Linked DNA regions of Homo sapiens: regions 1, 3 and 4 are each linked to region 2. Evidence: promoter capture Hi-C in 16 types of primary human blood cells and fetal thymus (Javierre and others, 2016). All regions are on one chromosome and are shown on one strand. Each heading gives the region's core, a stretch centred on a gene start or on the middle of the fragment in contact. The rest is flanking DNA. Distances are from core to core; before and after follow the strand shown. Region 1 has its middle 37 kb from the start of WDR4. Region 2 holds the start of PDE9A (phosphodiesterase 9A). Region 3 has its middle 41 kb from the start of LINC01668. Region 4 has its middle 22 kb from the start of LINC01668.

Region 1 (3,603 bases), core at 342-2,841, 190 kb after region 2:
TGGTATAGCGTAGCATGGTGCATGCTCCACGCTCCTCTGGGACCCTCAAGCTTCCCTGCCTCCTCTGTGGGGACCCCTGGGTGACGTCTTGCTGTAGAGGAGAGGGCGCTGCTGTGCAATTCTGGTCCAGATGGTTCAGCTGGTGACCCTGGCCTCCCCATGCCAGGCTCCTGGAGGCCATTCCCAAGGTCCTGGGGGGAGGATTGAAACCACGCCCCTGGGTCCCACACCCACCTGGCCCCCTACCCCCGAAACTGCCGCCACACCCAATCCCCCCTCTCCCGGATCTGGGAGCTGGGATTCTGCCCTGCTGTCCCCGTCTGGGGCCCCTCTCCTCTGCAGGTGCCTCAGTTGGGAGAAGGAGGGGTGGCTGTGAAGGTGAGGATGAAGGAGATGGCCCAAGAGCACAGCCTGGGGGCAAGTTCCCAGGGAGGCACTCGCTGGTAAGGGAACAGGGAACACTCGCTGTCACCCACCTTCCTTGTGACAGTGGCGCTGTGGCCCATCCACCATCACCCCAGCGCTTCACCATGAGCAGCTTCACGAATCCATGCCCAGCTCACTGCAGAATCCCCGGGCACCAGCGCTTCGCCAAGAGTGGCCTCCAGACTCCACATTTTAAGAAGGAACTCCCACCCCATTCAGCTCGCTGCAGAATCCCCAGGGTCCCTGCCAGCCTGGCACCCAGCGTGCCCCTCAGTATTCTGGGGATTAGTGGGGGAGTCCCTCTGCCGGGAAGAGGTCCTGGCTGTGTCCCTGCAGGGCAGTGGCTGAGCCCATGCCTCGACCCCAGGGCCAGTCCCCGCCAGGTGCCATCCTGAGCAGGGCCACAGAACAGATGTCCCACATGGCCAGGACCCCTGTGGCCACCTGACCCCGGGGGGGCTGTGGCCCTCGGTGAAGCAGGTGACCGGGCGGGCTGTGGGGTTTGTCAGCTCCGCAGCGTCACTGCCGCTCAGCGTATGAGTTTCCACTCCCAGCACTCAATGAACAGCTGAGCAACTGCAGGTGCCTCCGAGTGCTGGGAGAGGGGATGCTCAGCCAGCCAAGGGCCTTTGCCCCAGGGGAGTAAAATCGGGGCATTTCCTGGTGGGTGTGGGCTGGGCTGGAGAAGCTGGGCCTCCGGGCAGGGGCTGGCATACTGTCCAGACACTGCACGGACTGCCAGACACTCCTCACCTGGGCCTCGGGCTTCTCACCTGAACCACAGGGTGGTAACCCCTGCCCCTCAGGTGGCATTGACGTGACCTGCCTAGTGCACAGTGAGCCTGAGGCAACACGGCCACCACCAGGAGACTCCCTGGGGAAGAGGCCCCCAGACAGCCAGGTGCCCATGAAGTTCTGCACAGGGGCCGCCGCCGTCCAGGAGATGGGAGGGCCCTGTCTGCACCCTGTCTGGAAGGGGAGTGGGGCGAGCGGGCCACTTGGCCTCCCTGGTATAGGTAAGGCCAAGGCAGCTAGAACTGGGGACAGAATACCCGCAAAGGGGAGGGGAGCTGCACAGATGAAAGGAAATACACACCAGCGTCCCGTTGGGGTCTTCGGATGAACACCAACCTACACATTCTGTAAAACCCCAGGACGCCAAAGAGTAGCTTTTGAGGAAAAAACAATCCTCCGGAGGGTAAGACAAACAATTCCCGCCTTGCACAGAAATCACCCTCGTCCCTCCAGCCAGTGTGCAGACACTTCTGAATACCCAGGATTCTGCAGGGACAGCAGGAGGGTCACACCTGGGAAGGACTAAATCATCCAAGGAAAGGCTACTTCAGCCTCACTCTAGTGAGCTTAAAACAAACCTGAAAAAGACCAAATTAATCTACATGGGGCTTAACAGCCGGCCAGAAAGCGTAATATTCTTTAAAGGAACCTTAACAAAACTTCACACTTAATAATGTAAATCTCACCATGTTCCTAGTCAAAAATTTACTACACAGACTCAGTAGCGGAAAAACATATCCCATAAGCAGAGGACAAATCACAGATGCTCCTCGACTTACGATGGAGCTACATCCGAACAAGCTCATCGTCGGCCGACAGATCGCACGCAAGTGGTCCACGGATCGCACATAAGTGGTCCACAGTCGACAGAAACAGACCTAGATATGACAGTAATAATGAATTAGCAGAAAAGGAACAATTATCTTAAATTTGCTCCATATGCTCGAGGGTATTTTTTAAAGCATGATTATGATTAAAAGAGAAATGGAAGACACTGGTGTGCTTTTTTTTTTTTTTTTTTTTTTTTTTGAGACCGTCACTCTGTCACCCAGGCTGGAATGCAGTAGTGCAATCACGGCTTGCTGCAGCCTCAAACTCCCAGGCTCAAGTGATCCTCCCGCCTCAGCCTCCCGAGCAGCTGGGACTACAGGCATGTGCCACCACACCTGGCTAATTTTTTTTTTTTTTAAGACAGATTCTTGCTCTGTCGCCCAGGCTGGAGTACAGTGGCGCGATCTCGGCTCACTGCAACCTCCGCCTCCCAGGTTCAAGCGATTCTCCTGCTTTAGCCTCTCAAATAACTGGGACAACAGGCATGTGCCCAGCTAATTTTTTATATTTTTAGTAGAGACAGGGTTTCACCATATTGGCCAAGCTGGTCTCAAACTCCTAACCTTGTGATCCACTGTCCTCCCAAAATGCTGGGATTACAGGCGTGAGCCACCGCACCTGACCTTTTTAATTATTTTTAAAGATGAGGTCTCACTGTATTGCCCAGGCTAGTCTCAAACTCCTGGGCTCAAGCAATCCCCCTGCCTCAACTTCCCAAAGTGTTGGGATCACAGGTGTGAGCCGCCAGCCTAGCTGGAAGACATTTTTTTAAATACCAAAACCAAATTTATAGAGATGAAAAAACACAATGGCTCATACAGAAAATGGCCATAGCTTAACAGCAGCTTAAAAGATCAGTGGGCTTGAAGACGTGGAAACAGAATCTACCAAAAATGAAACGCAAACTGAAGAAGATGAGCAGACTCACGGACCCATGAGTCCACAGCAAGCAGCCCATTCGAGTACCTGGGACTGCAGGAGGCAGGGGAAGAGACCGAATAGCTAGAATATTTCCAAATTGCATAAAAATGACAAAGCCTACAAATCTTGACAAACCCCCAAAACACACACACATACCCTAAAGCTTATCAAATTACAGAAAACCAGGGATAAAGAGAAAAAAACAAAAGCAGCCGCAGAATACATACATGATGACTATCATGTATCAGTCAAGAGATAGAAACATTTAACACGAAGAATGATTCAACAGGAACAGAGGGTTCCACTAACATGTAAAGAGACTTCCGAGAACGGAGGCGCTGAGGCCTCGGGAGAACCTCCACCGCCAGGACTGAGACAACAAACCCACAAGCGTTGAGTCTGGATCTTGGTGAGAACCTCGGAACCCCACGTCGGCTGAGACGCAGCTCTGACCTGAGTGGGGCTATGATGTGCCGGGTGGTGCAGTTGGCCAAGGTGCAGCAGGCCAAGGCCTGAGAGCAGGAAGCCCGGGGCAGGAGTGCCAGCGAGACTCACCCAGAAGCTCTCCCTGGGGCAGGAGGGAGGCAGACGCCCTGGGAGCTGGACAGAGGCAAGGAAGCTTAGCAGGAA
Region 2 (3,625 bases), core at 1,126-3,625:
TCTGACCTCACAGCCCACTACGGTCCCCCACAGCCCACTCCCTCCCTCCGCTCTGGCCACGTGGCCTCCTGCATAAGGCTGCTTCTGTGCCAGAACGTCCTTCCCTCTGACACACACAGGCTCCTTGCTCCTAACACCTGTAAGATCCCTCCTCCTATGTGACCTTTTGCCTGGCCACTTTCTCTAAAATTCCAACTCCCTCACACTGCACATTCCCTCACACTGCACATTCTATATCCCCTTCCCCGCAGGATTTTTCTTTTTTAGAGATGGGGTCTCACTATGGATTTTTCTTCTTTGCCTTAATTTTTATCCAACACCCTACACATTCTATTTATTTATACCATCGTGTCTGTCTTCCCCAGAGAATGCCAGCTTCTTCAGGCCAGGGATCTCTGCTTATTCTGTTCACTACTGAATTCCCAGTGCCCAGAACAGCACCCAACACGCAGTAATGAGATTGTTGACGAATGGAAGACCGCACTGCTCCATGGGGATCTGGGAGAGGAAAGGGTTCCTCTCTAGGCAGCTGCTGAGGCCTCATCGATCCAGTATCTACACAGGGGTCCAGTCCAGCTCCTAAAAGTGCAAAGTAATTATAGATGCGATTATTCTCCTGAGCACAGAATCAGCCAGGCAGTGTGAGGGGCCAGCCTGCACTGGTGCTGGACGCACACAGAGTCTCAGAGCCACACCCTCCACCCTCCTGGGGAACTGCCCTGCAGAACCACCCCCCATGGGCGGGCACTCGTCCTTCTGGGGCTCTTGGAGGAAATGGTTACAGAAGACTAGGCCAGATGACAATAAGGGATGGAGAATAACTAAGTGCCAAGCCAATGAGCCATCTGCTGGTAAGAACTCCATGCCAGGCAGCACAGGCGGTCCCAACAGCACGATCTCTGGATTAGCCCAAATAGCATCGGAACATTTGACAACAAATTGAACTACTAGTAATAGTGCTCACTTCAATGAGCCGGGGACACAGTATCCCCATGGCGAGTCAGCTGGCCCGCTGTAACCACCCAGCTGGGTCTCCCCACCCCAAAGGCCTCCAGGCTGTCCCCTTCTCATCCTGTCACTTGAAAAGCACAACTCATGGTGCCAAAGCTCTGACACGGACTCCACTGGAGCTGTGGGCAGGGGGTGCCAAGGTACCGAGTTCCAAGCCGTTGTTATTTGAGAGCGTGCCCCCCGCCATGAGAGCAGGTGGGGGGACATAAAGTGACACAGGATGGACTGGCCAAAGGCTGAGGACGATCACTTACCTCACAGGATGATGCCACCCCCACGGACAGGCAAGGAGCTCTCACCTTCCCCAGGACCCCAGCTGCCACCAGAGCTCCAGATGGCCCTGGGGGTGTCTGTAAAGCCTGTGACCGTCCACCAGGTGGAGACCAGGCTGGCCAGGGGAGGGAGAGGAAGTGACCACTGGCCCTGGCACTGGCTGGCCGGCTCCAGCAGGCCCGAAGGGGAGGGAGGAGCCTGGGTGCACCAGACTCTCTCAATAAGCAGCACCCAGACACTTAACAGATGGAAAGCGGTGGCTTGGAACTCACTTCCAACGAAACAATAGCACATGCTCCGGCTGGCTTTGACACTTGCTTCCAAAGGCGACCTGCACCCAGGGCCAGGACCACGGCATCTGAGCCTCCTCCCCCAGCCGCCAACCCCATTCCCAATGGAGGAGCCCAGGAGAACTGGGGGCGGCCAAGGCAGCCCTTCCCTGCTCCGCAGATCCAGAGGATGCCCACAGCCCCCTTCCCCTCCCGCCTTTCCCACACTCCCTGTAGCAATTCACACAAGCGGGGAGGGGACGAAACTGCTGAATCCAGCAGATAGCTTGTGGCGGGGTAATCCTCGGTCCGGCCCCATACAGGACAGAAATAAAATCGCCATTTCAGCTCCGGGCGCAGCTGGAGGAGGCTGACGCCCCCTAGTTAGGGGAAGGCTGTGGGTGACCGAGAAGGAACTTTTCCCGTTTTCTATTCAAATGAAATGAGGGTGGCGGTCGCAGCAGGGAGAGAGGAGCGAGGGGAGTTTTCCCGGCGGGGCTGGGGGGTCCACAGCGGCGCGGCCACGCTCAGCCCAGCGCTGGCTTAGGAGGGACGGGCTGCGTGGGGAGGCGACGGCTCCGGGCCGAAGGGGTCGCTCAGGGCTCTGCACAGCTGTCCAGGGGGCATCGGGAGATAGGCAGCCGACCGGGGGCTGGAGTCAAGGGAAGAAGAAAGAGGGGGAAGGGAGGTGCAGGGAGTGAAGAGGAGGGGAGAGAGGAGAGACGGGGGAGGGAGGGGGGAGGGGGGAGGGGGAGGGGCGGGCGGGCGGCCGGGAGGAGGAGCGCGCGAGCCGGAGTCGGAGCCCGAGCCCGAGCGCGAGCCGAGCGGAGGAGACCCTGCGGCGCGCGGCGGCGGCTCCCGGGCGTCCCGGGCCCGGTGGCGGCGCGGCTGTGGTTGGCTGAGCGCCGCGGGCCGCCCCCCGCCCGCCCCCTCCCCTGCTCCCCTCCCCCGCCTCCCGCGGCGGCTGGCGTCGGGAAAGTACAGTAAAAAGTCCGAGTGCAGCCGCCGGGCGCAGGATGGGATCCGGCTCCTCCAGCTACCGGCCCAAGGCCATCTACCTGGACATCGATGGACGCATTCAGAAGGTAGCCCCTCCCCCACCCAGACACCCCCTCCTCCCCCCGGGTGACAGCGCCGGGGCCGGGCGCGGCGGGGCGGGACTGTCCGTGCGTCTGCCGGTCCAGGCTGCGGCCTCCGTGCGCTCCGCCAGCTCTGGTCGGGGGCGGGGGTCCCCACGCGCCGGCTCCCCGGGGAAAGGGGCGACTCGCCCTGGGGGGTGGGGGGTGGGGGGGCGGGCTAGTGTTTCCGTTTCACAGGCAGAGCTTTTCTTTTTGAAAATCTGATTAGGCTGAGTTTTTACATTCAAGGGCTGGCACATGAAGCCTTTAATTTCCGGTGGATCGGCCCGCCGGGCAGCCCCGGGGTCGTGGTCCGCGGAGGGGGCGAGCAGCCGCCGCTTCCTGTCGCGCGGGGGCAGGTGCGGGGGGCGCCGGCGGGGACACTGCTCCCCCGCAGGTGAGTAGCTCCGACTGCAGAGGGGGACTCGGGCCGCTGCACCTCCGGGGCCCCGCGGAGAGCCTGGGGGGCAGCGGGTCCGGCTCTCCCCTGCTGTGCGGAGATAGGAAGTCCCTCGAATGTCCAGCGTTCCTAGCGGACTTGAGTTACACGGGAGAGGGGTTCAGAATAGACCCCCTTTGTTCGTGGCCCCCTCTGACGGGCAGGGAGGGACAATGAGCGCGCCGGCTTGGAAGGGGCTCTCATGAGCTCCCCCTAAAGTCCCCAGGGAAAAGCCATTGTGAGGAAATCCCTCAAACCTCAGCTGGGCGTTTCAGGAAGCCCTTGCAGCTGCTTCTCACCTTTCTGCCCACGGAGTACTCCACTGAAGGAGGCCAGGGAGAGATGCCCCAGCCAGGCACAGAGCAGGTGCCGGCCAGGCTTGAGTCTTTCCTGTTCCCAGAGGTGCATTTGGCCAGTTTAATCAGTAGATTTAAGCCAACAAGCCTCCCTCACCCTGTGCCCGGCTTGATCCCCGTGAAATGGAAAGTACAGCCCTCTCCCACCGTAGCCCGCTT
Region 3 (3,293 bases), core at 315-2,814, 170 kb after region 2:
GGAATTCAACACCAACCTGGCCAACATGGCAAAACCCCATCTCTACTAAAAATACAAAAACTAGCCGGACGTGGTGGCAGGCGCCTGTAATCCCAGCTATTTGGGAGGCTGAGGCAGGAGAATCATTTGAACCCAGAAAGTAGAGGTTACAGAGAGCCAAGATCAAGCCACAGCACTCTGGCCTGGGTGATAGTGTGGGACTCCATCTCAAGAAAAAAAAATAATAATAATAATAATAAAAAAATGAGGTGAGCAATCACAGTTTTAACTTCGTATTACTGAAAGAGGCACCACAGAGGGTAGGAAAGGCACTCTTTAATTGCTGACACCATCCCTCTGCTGCCCGCTGGCAGCTGTCGCATGGCACAGAGCAATCATCTGTGTGCTTGTGGGAGGGAAGGTGCAGTGATTGTGGGACTTTGCATTGAACTCAGTGCTGCTGCTTTGTCACAACAGAAAGCAAAACTGGGCTGAACTCAGCCAGCGCCCACCCATGGAGGGAGCACTTAGACTAGCCCTAGCCAGAGAGAAATTGCCCATCCCAGTGACTGGAACTTCAGTTTGGGCAAGCTTTGCCACCACAGGCTAAAGTTCTCTGGGGGCCTAAATAAACTTTAAAGGCAGTCTAGGCCACAAGGACTGCAACCCCTTGGCAAGACCTAGTGCTGTGCTAAGCTCAGATCCAGTGGACTTGGGGGACATGTGACCTAGTTAGACACCAGCTTGGGTGGCTAAGGGAGTGCTTGCACCATCCCTCCTCCAACCCCAGGCAGCACAGCTCACGGCAATGAAAGCAACTCCTTCCTTCTGCTTGAGGAGACAAGAGGGAAAAATAAAGAGGACTTTGTCTTGCGTCTTGCATACCAGCTCGGCCACAGTAGGACAGGGCACTGGGCAGAGTTGTGAGGCCCCTATTCCAAGCCCTAGATCCTGGATGATACTTCCAGACACACCTGGGCCAGACAGAAACCTACTGCCTTGAAGGGAAGGACTCAGTCTTGGCAGGATTCATCACCTACTGACAAAAGGGCCCTTGGACCCTGAATAACTAGTAACGATACCAGGTAGTACACCACGGGCCTTGAGTGAGACTGAGATGTGCTGGTTTCAGTTTCTATCTCGGCCACAATGGGGTAGAGCACCAAGTGGGCTCTTGGGGTCCCTGACACAAGGCCTTGTCTTTTGGGTTCCCTGAGCAAGGCAATTCTGGACCTGCCTTGGGCAAGGGGGTGCCCATTGCCCTGAAGGGAGGGTCCCAGGCCTGGCAGCATTTACCACAAGCTGACTGAAGAGCCCCTGGGCTCTAAGTGAACACTGATGGTAATCAGGTAATACTCTCCATGGGCTTGTAACGGTAGTAGCCATGGGAGAGGCTCCTCTGCTTACGGAAGTGGGAGGAAAGAGTGGGAAGAAATTTGTCTTGTGGTTTGAGTGCCCACTTAACTGTAATAGAATAGAACACCAGCTAGATTTCTAAGGTTTTTTGAGTCCAGTTTCTGGCTTCCAGATGGCATCCCTGGACCCACTTGGGGCCTGGGGGAACTCACTGCCCTGAAAGGAAGAATATAAGCCTGGCCGGCTTCACCACCTGCTGATTGTAGAGCCCTATGGCCTTGAGTAAACATAGGCAGTAGCAAGGTAGTAATTACGGCAGGCCTTGGGTGAGATTCAGTGTTGTGCTGGTTACAGGTCTGACCCAGCACAGTCCCAGTGGTGGTAGCCACGAGGGTGCTTGTGTCACCCTACCCTCAGCTCCAGGCAGCTCAGCACAGACAGACAGACTCCATTTGTTTGGGAGAAAGTAAAGGAAGAGAACAAAATCTCTGCCTGGTAAGCCAGAGAATTCTTCTGGATCTTATCCAAGACCACGAAGGCAATACCTCTATGAGTCTGCAACAACCACACTGTTACAGGGCTTCAGGTGCCCCCCACCCCGCCCAGTGCAGATACAGCTTAGATCAAAACACCTAAGTCCCTTCAAATACCTAGAAAGCCTCCCCAAGAAGGATGGGTACAAATAAACCCAGACTGTAAAGACTAAAATAAATACCTAACTCTTCAATGCCCAGACATCAATGAACATCCACAAGCATCACAACCATTCAGGACAACATGACCTCATCAAATGAACTAAATAAGGCAGCAGGGACCAATCCTGGAGAAACAGAGATACGAGATCTTTCAGACAGAGAATTCAAAAGAGCTATTTTGAGGAAATTCACAGAAATTCAAGATAACACAGAGACAGAATTCAGAATTCTATCAGATAAATTTAACAAATAGATTGAAATAATTCAAGAGAGTCAAGCAGAAATTCTGAAATTGATACATGCAATTGACATAATGAAGAACATATTAGAGTCTCTTAATAGCAGAATTGATCAAACAGAAGAAAACATCAGTGAGCTTGAAGATAGGCTATTTGAAAACACACAGTCAGGGGAGATGAAAAAAGAATAAAAATAATGAAACATGCTGACAAGACCTAAAAAATAGCCTCTAAGGGGCAAATCTAAGAGTTATTGCCTTAAAGAGGAGGTAGAAAAAGAGATAGGGGTAGAAGCTTATTCAAAGAGATAATAATGAGAACTTTCTAAACCTAGACAAAGACATTAATATTCAAGTACAAGAAAGTTACAGAACACCAAGCAGATTTAACCCAAAGACGAGCACCTCAAGGCATTTAATAATCAAACTCCCATAGGACAAAGAAAGGATCCTAGAAGTAGCAAGAGAAAAGAAACAAATAACTTACAATAGAGCTACAATATGACTGGCAGCAGACTTCTCAGTGGAAACCTTACAGGCCAGGAGAGAGTGGCATGATGTATTTAAAGGGCTGAAGAAGAAAAAAAAAAAAAAAACTTTTACCCTAGAATAGTACATCTGGTGAGAAAATATCCTTAAATAAAGACTTTCCCAGACAAACAAAAGCTGAGGGATTTCACATTCTTTTAAATGCTGTATAATAACCCATAAAATGAATGTACCATATTTAACACGTAATGTTTAACACATTATTAAATGCCTAGGGGCATTATTCAATAATGAAGCATGCCTATAAAAACTAGAAAATAGCCTCAAAGGGGTGAATCTAAGAGGAGGTAGACAAAGAAACAGGGGTAGAAGTTTATTCAAAAAGATAACAACAAAGAACTTTCCAAACCTAGAGAAAGAGATCAATATTCAAGTACAAGAAGGTTATAGAACACTCCTCACCAGACTTGTCCTACAAGAAACGCTAAGAAAGTTTCTTCAATCAGAAAGAAAAGGACATTAATGAGAAGTAAGAA
Region 4 (3,168 bases), core at 444-2,943, 150 kb after region 2:
AACCTCTGCCTCCCAGGTTCAAGTAATTCTCCTGCCTCAACTTCCCAAGTAGCTGGGATTACAGGCATGTGACACCACACCCAGCTAATTTTTTATTTTTAGTAGAGAACGGGGTTTTTGTCATGTTGGCTAGGCTGTTCTCAAACTCCTGATCTCAAGAGATCCACCTGCCTCGGCCTCCCAAAGTGCTGGGATTACAGGCATGAGCCACTGCGCCCGTTCGGAACCACCTCTCTGAATCGTCAAGGAAGCTGACACCACCTTGCGGTTTCCTAGAGTTTCCTTTAGACTACGAAATACGGTGAGTTGACCAATTGTACCTTGAAAACCTGAAGGCCAGGGGTTGTATCTTTCACACGCGTCCGTGTGAAGAGACCACCAAACAGGCTTTGTGTGAGCAACAAGGCTGTTTATTTCACCTGGGTGCAGGCAGGCTGAGTCCGAAAAGAGAGTCAGTGAAGGGAGATAGGGGTGGGGCCGTTCTATAAGATTTGGGTAGGTAAAGGAAAAAGGGGGGTTGTTCTCTGGCGGGCAGGAGTGGGGGGTCACAAGGTGCTCAGTGGGGGAGCTTTCTGAGCCAGGATGAGCCAGGAGAAGGAATTTCACAAGGTAATGTCATCAGTTAAGACAAGGACTGGCCATTTTCACTTCTTTTGTGGTGGAATGTCATCAGTTAAGGCAGGAACCGGCTATTTAAATATCACTTCTTTTGTGATTCTTCAGTTACTTCAGGCCATCTGGATGTATACGTGCAGGTCACAGGGGATATGATGGCTTAGCTTGGGCTCAGAGGCCTGACATTCCTGTCTTCTTATATTAATAAGAAAAATAAAACATAATAGTGTTGAAGTGTTGGGGCGGCGAAAATTTTTGGGGGGTGGTATGGAGAGATAATGGGCGATGTTTCTCAGGGCTGCTTTGAGCGGGATTAGGGGTGGTGTGGGAACCTAGAGTGGGAGAGATTAAGCTGAAGGAAGATTTTGTGGTAAAGGGTGATATTGTGGGGTTGTTAGAAGAAACATTTGTCGTATAGAATTATTGGTGATGGCCTGGATATGGTTTTGTATGATTTGAAAAAAGAACGGAATAAGACAAGGAGAAAAACAGGTATTAAAGGACTAAGAATTGGAAGGACCCAGGACATCTAACTAGAGAGTGCCCAAGGAGGTTCAGCATAGCCCTGCCAGCAAAGATTATTTATTTACTTTAAGAGGGAGTTAAGAGTGGTGATTTAGGGATAGCACCAGTAGATATCAGCTGTGATGGCTTGGAGAAACAGTGTAAACCAGCAGTGTAAACAAGAGCAGGGCATTTATGAGTAGTTGAGAACGGCGAATAGGAGTATGATTAGACAGAAGATAGTAGGGATGACAAGTTTTGTTTTTTTTGCGGGGGGGAGGGCGCCGCAGTCCAACTTGGTCTGGTGTCTGGAATGAGACTGGGGCCTAATAAAAAGGAGCGTCTATACAGGAGCTCAAATGGGCTGTACCTTGTGGCATTCTGAGGACAGGCCTGAATTCTGAGGTCAAGTGGTAAAAGTATTGTCCAGTCCTTTTTAAGTTGGTGGCTGAGCTTGGTGAGGTGTGTTTTTAAAAGACCATTAGTTCACTGAATAAGAGCTTGAGAAACTGCTTGGCTGATTTGACTAATAAAGGCTGGTCCGTTATAGGACTGTATAGAGGTGGGAAGGCCAAACCGAGGAATTATGTCTGACAGAAGGGAAGAAATGACCGTGGTGGTCTTCTTAGACCCTGTGGGAAAGGCCTCTACCTATCCAGTGAAAGTGTCTACCCAGAACAAGAGGCATTTTAGTTTCCTGACTCGGGGTATGTTGAGTAAAGCCAATTTGCCAGCCCTGGGCGGGGGCAAATCCTCACGCTTGATGTGTAGGGAAAGGAGGGGGCCTGAATAATCCCTGAGGAATAGTAGGATATCAGATGGAACACTGAGAAGTTATTTCCTTGAGGATAGATTTCCACGATGGAAAGGAAATGAGAGGTTCTAAGAGGCGGGCTAGTGGCTTGTACTATAGCATAGCCTGCCTTTGCTGGTGTGTGGCAATTAGGCCTGGTGGAAGTGCCATCAATAAATCAAGTGTGATCAGGGTGAGGAACAGGAAAGAAGGAAATATGGGGAAACGGGGTGAATATCAGGTGGATCAGAGAGATACAGTCACGGGGGTCAGGTGTGGTATCAGGAATAATGTGGGAGGCCAGATTGAAGTCCACGCCAGGAACAATGGTTATTGTGGGAGACTCAACAAAGAGTGAGTACAGCTGAAGGAGCCGGGAAGCAGAAAGTATATGTGTCAGGTGTGAGGAGGAAAACAGATTTTGGAAGTTATGAGAACTGTAGAGAGTGAGTTGAGCATAGTTTGTGATTTTAAGGGCCTCTAAAAGTATTAGTGCGGTGGTGGCCGCCGCATGCAGATTTGAGGGCTAGGCAAGACAGTAAGGTCAAGTTGTTTGGATAAAAAGGCTACAGGGCGCAGTTCCGGTTCTCGTGTAAGAATTCTGGCTGCACAGCCCTGCACTTCGGCTGTGGGTAATGAAAAGGGTTGGGATGAGTCAGGGAGAGCTAGCGTGGGGGCCAACTCTAAAGCTGTCTTCAAGGAATGGAAAGAGGAGTGGGGAAAGGATTTAGGATCTATGGGCTCAGCTAGGTTTCCTTTTGTGAGTTTATATAATGGTTTTGTTAGGATGGCAAAACCAGGTATCTAAAGTCGAAAGTATCCAACCATGCCTAGGAAGGAAAGGAGTTGTTGTTTTGTAGAAGGTGTTGGGGTTTGAGAGATCAGTCGGACACGATCGGCAGGGAGAGCACGTGTGTTTTTATGAGAATTACGCTGAGATAGGTAACAGATGAGGAAGAAATTTGGGCTTGACTGAAGTAATGGGGGCTGGCTGTGAAGCCTTGCGGCAGTACAGCCCAGGTAATTTGCTGAGCCTGATGGATGTGAGGGTCAGTCCAAGTGAAAGCGAAGAGAGGCTGGGATGAAGGGTGCAAAGGAATAGTAAAGAAAGCATGTTTGAGATCCAGAACAGAATAATGGGTTGTGGAGGGAGGTATTGAGAATAGGAGAGTATATCGGTTTGGCACCACGGGGTGGATAGGCAAAACAATTTGGTTGACAAGGCACAGATCCTGAACTAACCTGTAAGCCTTGTC

The links. Contacts are between HindIII fragments. The CHiCAGO score rates a contact against its expected background, and 5 or more counts as called.
Region 1: a contact is called between a fragment that was not itself captured here and the fragment with the promoter of PDE9A in region 2, in 1 of 17 cell types (naive CD4 T cells). The highest score is 5.1, in naive CD4 T cells.
Region 3: a fragment that was not itself captured here is called in contact with the fragment with the promoter of PDE9A in region 2 in 11 of 17 cell types (endothelial precursors, non-activated CD4 T cells, M0 macrophages and 8 more); the score reaches 8.0 in endothelial precursors.
Region 4: a fragment that was not itself captured here is called in contact with the fragment with the promoter of PDE9A in region 2 in 2 of 17 cell types (M2 macrophages and M1 macrophages); the score reaches 5.9 in M2 macrophages.

What each region holds. Positions count from the first base shown.
Region 1 is chr21:42,841,183-42,844,785 of GRCh38, forward strand. It overlaps a transcript of WDR4 not described here. Among named protein-coding and RNA genes, the nearest start is that of WDR4, 37 kb to the right of the region's middle. The HindIII fragment of the contact is 3,086 bases long and covers 49-3,134 here.
Region 2 is chr21:42,651,246-42,654,870 of GRCh38, forward strand. It overlaps PDE9A (phosphodiesterase 9A), which reads left to right and starts at 2,376. Exons shown (of 20, transcript NM_002606.3): 1 at 2,376-2,638. The coding sequence starts at 2,570. It overlaps LOC101928255 (a long non-coding RNA gene), which reads right to left and starts at 2,413. Exons shown (of 3, transcript XR_244322.4): 1 at 345-2,413. RefSeq lists an enhancer at 1,340-2,061. The HindIII fragment of the contact is 24,905 bases long and covers 1-3,625 here.
Region 3 is chr21:42,819,642-42,822,934 of GRCh38, forward strand. No RefSeq gene overlaps it. Among named protein-coding and RNA genes, the nearest start is that of LINC01668, 41 kb to the left of the region's middle. The HindIII fragment of the contact is 1,993 bases long and covers 569-2,561 here.
Region 4 is chr21:42,800,495-42,803,662 of GRCh38, forward strand. No RefSeq gene overlaps it. Among named protein-coding and RNA genes, the nearest start is that of LINC01668, 22 kb to the left of the region's middle. RefSeq lists an enhancer at 387-968. The HindIII fragment of the contact is 9,598 bases long and covers 1-3,168 here.